Regions from separate parts of the Homo sapiens genome. Here regions 1 and 2 are each linked to region 3. Evidence: promoter capture Hi-C in 16 types of primary human blood cells and fetal thymus (Javierre and others, 2016). All regions are on one chromosome and are shown on one strand. Each heading gives the region's core, a stretch centred on a gene start or on the middle of the fragment in contact. The rest is flanking DNA. Distances are from core to core; before and after follow the strand shown.

Region 1 (2,762 bases), core at 208-2,707, 1.0 Mb before region 3:
GAATGAATGGGCCTTGTTTGGATTCTAATTTAAATAAACCAACTATAGAAAAACATGTTTTAGGCAATCAGATTTTTTGTTATGGGCTAAATATTTAGAAGATGTTAAGAAATGTTTATTAATTTCATTAGGTAAAATAATGTTGGTGTGGTTATGTAGAGTATGACTTACGTGCACAGAACAGAATGATAAGGTGTCCAGGATTTGCTTTAAAATATTCTAGATTTTTTTAAAAGGTGAGAGGAAATGACACATGTATATCTAAATTTTGATGGTTGTTGAAGCTGGCTGGTAGGTACCTAGTATTTCATTATACTTTTTCCTTTGTGTGTTTGGAAATTTTTATAATAAGCAGGAAAAATAAAAGTAAGAATATATGTATTATAGATAATTTGAAATATGTAGAATCATGAAAAAAAGGAAAAAATACTCAATACCACTACCCAAGAGAATCTAAATTAACTTTTTTGACAAATTTCGTTTCAGTCTGTTTTCCATGCGTATTTTAATTTTGGTCATGTTGTGTGTAAAATGTTTATTTCTGCTTACTTGAATGAACATTATGTTGCAATTTCATTTCCATGCTATTACAATAGTGCCCCCTTAACCATGGTTTTGCTTTCTGAGGTTTCACTCAACAAGCTTGGTTTGAAAATTTTTAGAGAGAAAATAAGAGATTACATTTACATAATAACTATTAATACAGTATATTGTTATAAAAACTTTATATTGTTATTAGTTATTGCTGTTAATCTCTTACTGGGCCTAATTTATAAATTAAACTTTATGAGAGGTGTGAAAGTTGATTATAGAAATTGGGTCATTCTTGTTGTACCCAACTAAATCAGAGTGAAGGGCCCAGGGGAAAAAGCATTTGGGGCATATAGCATCTGCTCCAAGAATTAAATTTTCCACAAGCCCAGCTACTGAAACTGCCTGTTGTAATCTGAAATCAGTTTTATCTGATAGCTAATGAAATAACCTGCTGTGACACTAAGATTAGTTTTACCCACTGCCATCACTCGCCAATCAGAGCTCGCCAGCTCCCCAAATGTTACCCATTGTTTCTTTGCAAAACAATGGGTAACATTTTTCCTTTTTATAAAACCTCCAACCTGATCTTTGTTTTTCAGACATACTGAAGACCACCCATTCTGTGTGTTTGCCTGGAAATGCAATTCTCATTTCCCAAATAAAATGTTTGAAATGTGGAAATTTGACTCTATGTTTTATTTGACTTTGAGAAAGGCATGCAAGTATAGTAAATACAGGCTTTGCTACTACCTGTAGTTTCAGACATCCACTGGGGATCTTGGAACATATCCCATGCAGATAAGAAGGAGATGCTGTATATATCACCACTTAATCATCACTGGAAATTCTAACTTTGTTAGTAATGTTCTTATGTGCACGTGGAAAAATTTCAAACAATCGTTCAGATATTTATAATGTGGTAACCGAAAGTCAGCCGTGTTTTTAATCACTGATCAGTCTTCTATACATTCTTTCATACTTCCATTCATACATATACTAAATATACTAAATTATAAAGATAACTTCTTACCATAGATTTTGTCCTGTCATCTTGTTTTTGTCCTTTATCAAGTATTATTATTTCTAAAAGGCTTTTTATGTCAGTAACATATATCTACCCCATTCATTTTAATGGCTTTATGCTATATCACTTCTAATCCAAAGTGTTTTTAAGCAATTATAGTGAAAGTGTCAAAAGGTGATATGGTGGCTTTTAAAAAATAAGATACTTTTCTTATAAGTCTCTCATATTATTATTTATTCCTCAGCATTTTATAGATTTTTGGTGCTATTTTGAATGCATCCAATTCTTATTACATTTTCTAACCGGTGATTGCACATTTTCCTGCTTTTCCTCTTTCTAGGGCTCCTTTACTAGTTCATGCCTATCACCTTGACCTCTTGATATTGGAATGTCCCAGAGGTATGTTCCTGGACTTCTCTATCTACACGTACTCACTCAGTGATTTCTTACAGTTCTATAGTCCCACTGTCATGTAGACTACTCCCAAATATATCCCTTCTGCCCATTATTCTTCCTTGAACTTCAGACTCATAAATCTAACTGTATATTACATGTCTCCACTTAGATGTCCGACATATTCTCAAACTTAACTTTTCTAACACTGAATTCCTCATCTGCCTCCTCAAATCCCCACTTTCTCCATCTCAAGCAATGACAACTCCATTCTTCCAGTTACTCAAGCCAAACACCAAATACATTGGAGTAACTGTTAAATCAAGCTTAGCCTAAAACTACCTCCTTACATATTTTAAATTCAGCCTAAATGTTTCTTTGTACATCTTAAACTATAACAAGTAGAAGTGTAACCAGATGTAGCCTACACTTGGGCCAATCACCAAGTTTTGGCCAATCAAATGTCGTCAACTATTCAAACCATGTTTAAATAAGGCAAACACAAAGCTGTAACCAATCCAGCTGGTTCTGTACCTCACTTCCATTTTCTGTGCCTCACTCCTTTTTCTGTCCATAAATCTTCCAGCACATGGCTGCGCTGGAGTCTCCGAGCCTACTCTGTCTGGGAAGGCTGTCTGATTTGCAAATCATTCACTGCTCAATTAAATTCCTTTAAATTTAATTCAGTTAAAGTTTTTCTTTTATCATAACCTTTGACCTTTCTCCTTTTCTTATACCCCATATCCAACCTATCAGATTACTATAGGTTCGAACCCAAATCCTATGAAACAGAGGATATGGTTATAATTTT
Region 2 (3,059 bases), core at 225-2,724, 1.1 Mb before region 3:
ACTTAATATCTTAAATTAGAAGAATAGGCACTGAGTGCAGGGAACACATTTAACAACTGTTACTTGTAGACTTATGTAACTTGGAAAGTAAAAAAAAACAAAGAGGCAAGAAAGGCTCTAAGATAGTATTGTCCAAGAGAGCTTTCTATAATGATGGGAATACTCTAACCAATTTGTGCTAACCAATACGGAATCCACATGTGGCTACCCTGCACTTGAAGTATGGCTAGCACAAATGTGAAAGTAAATTTTTAATTATATTTAATTTGAATTCAAACAGCCATGTGACTTGTAGCTACCAAAACAGTGTAACTCTAAGTTCGTAAATCTGGGAGAGTGGACAGATGGTGGTACCACCAATTGAAGTGGCAGAGAGAGTAGCACGGATACTCAGTTTGGAGGAATCTGACATATCTATAAGTCATCCAAGCTGAAATGTCCAGCAGGTGACTGAATTTACAAATCTGAAGCACAGGTGAGAAAAGTGGTTCCAAGAAAAGTGGGTTAAAGATGAAACCATGAGTAAGACTGATATTAAGGAGGTAGGTAGAAGACCATGAAGGAAACTCAAAGAATGGTATAAGAAAAATTAGGAGAGGATGGTGTCAAGAAAACCAAGGTAACAGAGTTTCAAGAGTGTGATATGTTAAATGCATAGATGTGACAAAATAACTAAAAAATGTTCAATATATTTAGCAAACAGAAATCACTAGTGATTTGGTTGGAGAAGCTTTAGTGGCAGAGGCAAAATTCAGAACGTTGTTCAGGAATGATAAGTTAAGGAATGATGCATCAACAAGGAAAAAGAGATGGCAAAATATAGCCCATCTTTTCCCCTACCCCTTTAGGAAAGAATGTAAAGACAATGGAGGTTATAAGCTGAGCGGGTGACATTGTGATTAGTGTCAAATGACACACAGGGGTAAAGAACCATTCCCAATTGAGTAATAGATATGTTCAGTCATTAAATCATAAGCACTCGAGACTCCCTTGATAAACTCTCCTACAGCTCCCCAAAGCTTATCACGGTAATTTTAAAAAGATATTCCCCAGCTTCTAAATCATACTTTCCATAGATTAATTTAAACAGGCAATTTAGTTTACATTAATACGTTGCTTAGCCTGAGTAAACAACTAAGATTCAGCCAAGACCCTGCCATTATGGTTATAAATTATATAATGTAGAGCTCAGATAAATAAGGCTTTATTACTTTTTAGTTTAAAAGAATAGCCACATATATGTACTAAAAGAACTGAAAGTACCTGAGAATCTGAGGCATAGCTGAGAATTAGGATAAAGTCTCATTTGAATTACTGTAATAACTTAACAATTATCCAAGACATCCCTCGTACCAACAGGATAGGTAATAAAAGATTTAAATTTTAATTGTCTTCATGCCACTTCCCTTTTTTTTTGAGATGGAGTCTCACTCTGTCACCCAGGCTGGAGTGCAGTGGTACAATCACAGGTCACTACAACTTCCATTCCCTGTGTCCAAGCAATCCTCCCCGCTCAGCCTCCCGAGTAGCTGGGATTACAGGTGCACACCACCACATCTGGCAAATTTTTGTATTTTTAGTAGAGACAGGGTTTCACCATATTGGCCAGGTTGGTCTCAAACTCCTGACCTCAAGTGATCGGCCCACCTCACCTCCCAGCGTGCTGGGATTACAGGAGTCAGCTACTGCATCCGTCATGCCACTTTCTTGAAGATGAATTTTATCCTTGCCACTCTTTCTATCATCAATGATTAATTCCCTCAATATATATTCACCAAACACTTTCTATGTGACATTAATATGCTGGGAGCTGGTGATATTATAGCATGGAGTTTCAAGAGAGTGACATATTAAATGCAAAAAGACCTAGTAAAATAAGGACTAAAAATGTTCAACATATTTACCCAAAAGAAGTCATTGGTGACTCTAAAAAGCTTACAGTCTAATGAAGAAGACAGGTAAGTGTTAGAAGACGTGAAGCACATAGAATACCTTACTCTTTCTGGGGGGTGGGGATGGGATAAGAATTCTTGACTGCCATTTTTGCCAATGGCATAAGATGAATAAATAAATAAAAATCCATATAGTACTTAGAGGTAGAAATGCCCTGAAATATGTTACTGCTTCCTAAGTGCAACTTACAGTAAATTCTGCAGGTCTGCACAAATCTTAGCATAAAAGAAATGCAGTTTCTAATAAAACCACACGATGGCACTGTTTACTATGTGAAAGTGAGTTTTTTGCTTTTTTTTTTTAATGGCTTTTTTTCTTTGCTCTAAATCAGTATGGAAGGTGTTATGGAAAAAGGCATTAACAGATTTATAAAAGGGTGATCATCGATAGCACACTGGACCAGGTGATTGCTAAGGCCACTCTCAAATTACTTACTCACCATAGCCAACCTGGTGGCTGTTCAGCCCTTTGACTATAAAACTTCTAAAATCTCTCTCTAACCTCCAATATGGATTAAATGTCTCAACTGGATTTTAACAGCATCTGTTCTATAGCACATAATAATGTAGGTAACAGGTCTGTATAGAAATTAAATTGGAGGGCAGCTATATACAATGTCTAATTTATCTATGAATGTACTGAATTTAGCAGACTGTCTCACATTTTATAGATCATATTTGTTGAATGAATGGATTCACAAATGAAAATGTTTTTATAAGATGGTACAAAATAATTACTCAAGACTTTTCATAATTTAAATTGATGTTTGAAGGAAAAGATAATTACAAAATTAAAATATCCTTTTTTAAACATCAATCTACGCCTTTCATCTTTGCTGAAACATCTCGTCAAAGACATCCTAGTCAGAGACACCTAGTCAAAGACAAATGTACAAAGACATTTTTTACCTAGACTACTGTTAAGAATTTCCTAATGTGATTTTCAAGTATCTACATTTGCTCCCTCTAGAATCTGTTCTCCACATAACAGAGTATATATCTTTCTAAAACACAAATCAGATTATTTTATTCTTTTGTTTAAAATCCCACAGTGGCTTCCCATTGCTCTTTAAATTCTATAATGGCTTCCTCTTGCTATAATGACTG
Region 3 (3,052 bases), core at 318-2,817:
TGAGGATGCTCCTCTCCCGGGGCCCTCACTTGGGGGAGCCCCGTCCCAGCGTCTAGCTCATCAAATTCCCGAAAGCAATTACAAAGGCATCTCTTCTCCACCCCAAAACAAAATAATGATCTACCAATCTTGCGAACACATTAAGACAAACTCCCTACAGGAAGGAGCATGACTTAAACAAGTTCAAGATACTTTGTCAGTCTTAACCTCAGGTATCTTGGCTGAAGGGATTAAATCATTAGACTTTACGTACCCAACCTCTTCCTAGCAATAGCAGATACATAATTTGCAAATACTGTTTCAGAGCTCTCTGGACCTTTCACGTTAAAATAAGCATACTTGATGGTGGGGAGACAGTGATTCTTACATTTAGGAAACAAATGCTTCCGATTGTGACCGTATGGAAGTGGAAAACAGCTTGCAATTGGAGAGTCTAAGAATTGAATTTCTTTTTAAAGTAAGAAACTGCCTCACTGCCCCCATCCCCAAGTGTAGGAAGATATAGAAACAGCTTACTGGCCAAGAATAGAAGAGGGAACCAGTGGAGAGGGACGGATTTGCAAGATAGCCTCTGGAGAAAAAAAAATCACGAGGGAGAAAAATCGGCTTCATACTATGGAGAGATGGGCGGGGTTGGGAAGCCTTGCTGCTGGTCTTGGGAAGCCTTGCTGCTGGTCTTGGGGACGTGATCCCCTGTCCCTAAGTGTGCCCCTGGAGGTTGTGGGGGAGGGGTATCCTCAACACAGAGGCCTGACCACCAAATCCCGGGCTGCAGAGCCAACAATCCTCCTTTGGGCTCCTGCACAGACTAAAAACAAAAAACTCTGAGAACTCCGACAAGTCAACGAAAGTCTGATCCCGTCAAGCCCGCACTCGCAAACCCCCACCGTGCTGCACTGGGCCCCGGCCCTCCCGAGCTCGGTCCCCTCGGACGACGGTCGTCGCCACTGCGGGCACCAGATTGGGGGGCGGGCCGCTCACCCCGCGGTCCTGCCCCACACCGACCCCGCTGAGGAGCCCCCGGCACCCGGGGCGACCAGGGAAGGCGGGAGGAGGTGCCCAGAAACTGCTCGTCCTGCCAGTCGCACCTGGCCGACGACTCTCTGGCCACTGGTTTGGTCTGGGGGATACGATTTCCCATTCAACTGAATTAGACCCGAGGCCGCGGCGGGGAGGGCAGCGGCCGGGGTCTCTCCGTTTCCTCCCCCGGCTCGCCTCCACCTGTTGCGGGAAAGTCGCGGTGGAGCGCCCGAGGGCGGCCGCAACCCCGGCCGGGGCCGAGCCGGGCTGGCCGAGCCGCGGCGGCGAAGGGCGGGGGAAGGCGCTCTCGGAGCAGGGTGCGCGGCGCGCAGGGCCGGTTGTTCCGGGCCGCGGCCGCGCGGGCGGGGAGGGGGCTGCCGGCGCCGGGTGATTTCGGTGCCAGCCCGCCGGCCCCGCTCGCCGTCCCCTGCCCGACGGGACCCCCACTATCCCCGCTGTGCGGTCACCTGTTTCGCTTCGCACTGCGCCGTCGCCGCCCCTGTGGCCGTCGCCGCCAGCTCCTAGCTCCGCCATGGTGCTCCGATGACGCGCCCGGAGAGCCGCTCCGCCCTTTCCTCGGCTTGGCTCCCGCCGGCCCCCGCCTCCCAGGCCAGCGGCCCAGACAGGTGAGCGCAGTCCGGGGATGGCGGAGGGCGGGGACAGAGAGCGCGGCAGTCGGCTGCGGCCTGGGCCTGGCGCGCCCCCTCGCGGGCAGGTGCGGCGTGGCAGCCGCTCCGACCGCCGCTGCCGAGTCTCGGCTGGAAGAGCGGCGGGCGGAACCAGTACCTCAGTCCGGAGCTTCCGGTCGCCGCGGCCGACCAGCTGAGGGCTCCCGGAGATATGGAGCGGGGTCAGCGAGGCCTGGTGGCGCCTCCTGGAGTCTGGGACGAGCGGCGGTCCGAGGAGCAGCCCAGGTGGGGCGAGGGTACGGAGACGCTATTTCCCTCCGAACTCTGAAGTAGCCAGGTCAGTGTCGGCTCCGCGAGGGCTGGAGTTCACGGTGACAGCCGGCAGAGCATCTGATGCCACGTGGAGAGGCGAAGTACATGGGTCGGATTCCACGCTGGGAGCCGGCCTGGATCTGCGCTTTAGGAAGCCACTGCGGGCGACCCTATCTTGTCGCCAGGACTTCGCATCTGATGAGCCTCAGGGCACACAAGTTAGAGAGGCTTGTGCCGGCTGATGTGGCTTTTCTTTTTCTTAGTTTCCGTTTAGTAAACGACCTTGTGACTTCTGGCTTGCTCAGGAAGACCAGAAAAAAAGGCAATAGGTAACGAATTTTTCTTTTTTTAAAGAAACAGATTATTGGCCGAGGAAAAACCAATTTCGCTCTAAAGGATAAGCAACAAAATACTGAGGGGGGAAAAAGCCTACACAAATGGAAACATACGGCACAAAATCAAGGAGCGACCAGTTCCGCATGGTTACACTAAAATGCACTGCACTCCCACTCTCTGGCTTGGCTGAAGATAACCAGCAAGCTCTGAACAGTTTAAAAGCCTTCCAAGGACTGCAGCAGCACTGGACACACAAGAGAGTCGAGAACAGTATTGGATTTATTGTTAGGGTTACAATTTTCACGATCTTTGCATGCAAAACTTGCCACTCTGAGCCCAGTGAACTATTTTTATTTGGTTTACTTACTGGCTTTCTGGATGACTAGGTAGAGCTTTAACTAAAGAACACTTCTGCTGTGGTCTGTGATGATGAATTTTCCCGTAGTGTCATTTCTATAATGGAATAGGCAAACTGACCATTTAGAATGTGATATTCCTAAATCACATTCAAATCAGTCTTATCAGAGACTTCTAATCAATAAAAATAAAGCACCAGATGGCTAGAGGTAGTTTTTGACCTCAGCTTGGGCCTCAGCAAAGATTTTTTGTGTTTTTTTTAACTACATTAAAACATCAGAGTTTAAGACACTTTTCTTTGAGCATCAGAAATACTCTCAGCTGAATTTAGAGTTGAACTATCCGGAAGAACCCTGGAGAAGGAGGGTGATTTATTTTCAACTTTCTGATTTACCACC

The links. Contacts are between HindIII fragments. The CHiCAGO score rates a contact against its expected background, and 5 or more counts as called.
Region 1: a fragment that was not itself captured here is called in contact with the fragment with the promoter of MAP7 in region 3 in 6 of 17 cell types (M0 macrophages, megakaryocytes, M1 macrophages and 3 more); the score reaches 10.2 in M0 macrophages.
Region 2: a contact is called between a fragment that was not itself captured here and the fragment with the promoter of MAP7 in region 3, in 1 of 17 cell types (fetal thymus). The highest score is 6.7, in fetal thymus.

What each region holds. Positions count from the first base shown.
Region 1 is chr6:135,502,918-135,505,679 of GRCh38, forward strand. The region is part of intron 2 of AHI1-DT (AHI1 divergent transcript); the gene reads left to right. Among named protein-coding and RNA genes, the nearest start is that of AHI1-DT, 6.5 kb to the left of the region's middle. The HindIII fragment of the contact is 1,635 bases long and covers 641-2,275 here.
Region 2 is chr6:135,449,599-135,452,657 of GRCh38, forward strand. The region is part of intron 11 of AHI1 (Abelson helper integration site 1); the gene reads right to left. Among named protein-coding and RNA genes, the nearest start is that of AHI1, 47 kb to the right of the region's middle. The HindIII fragment of the contact is 915 bases long and covers 1,018-1,932 here.
Region 3 is chr6:136,548,855-136,551,906 of GRCh38, forward strand. It overlaps MAP7 (microtubule associated protein 7), which reads right to left and starts at 1,568. Exons shown (of 18, transcript NM_003980.6): 1 at 1,488-1,568. The coding sequence starts at 1,554. It overlaps MAP7-AS1 (MAP7 antisense RNA 1), which reads right to left. Exons shown (of 1, transcript NR_186370.1): 1 at 1,869-3,052. RefSeq lists enhancers at 404-942, 1,481-2,018 and silencers at 1,240-1,289, 1,300-1,479, 1,520-1,869. The HindIII fragment of the contact is 6,247 bases long and covers 1-3,052 here.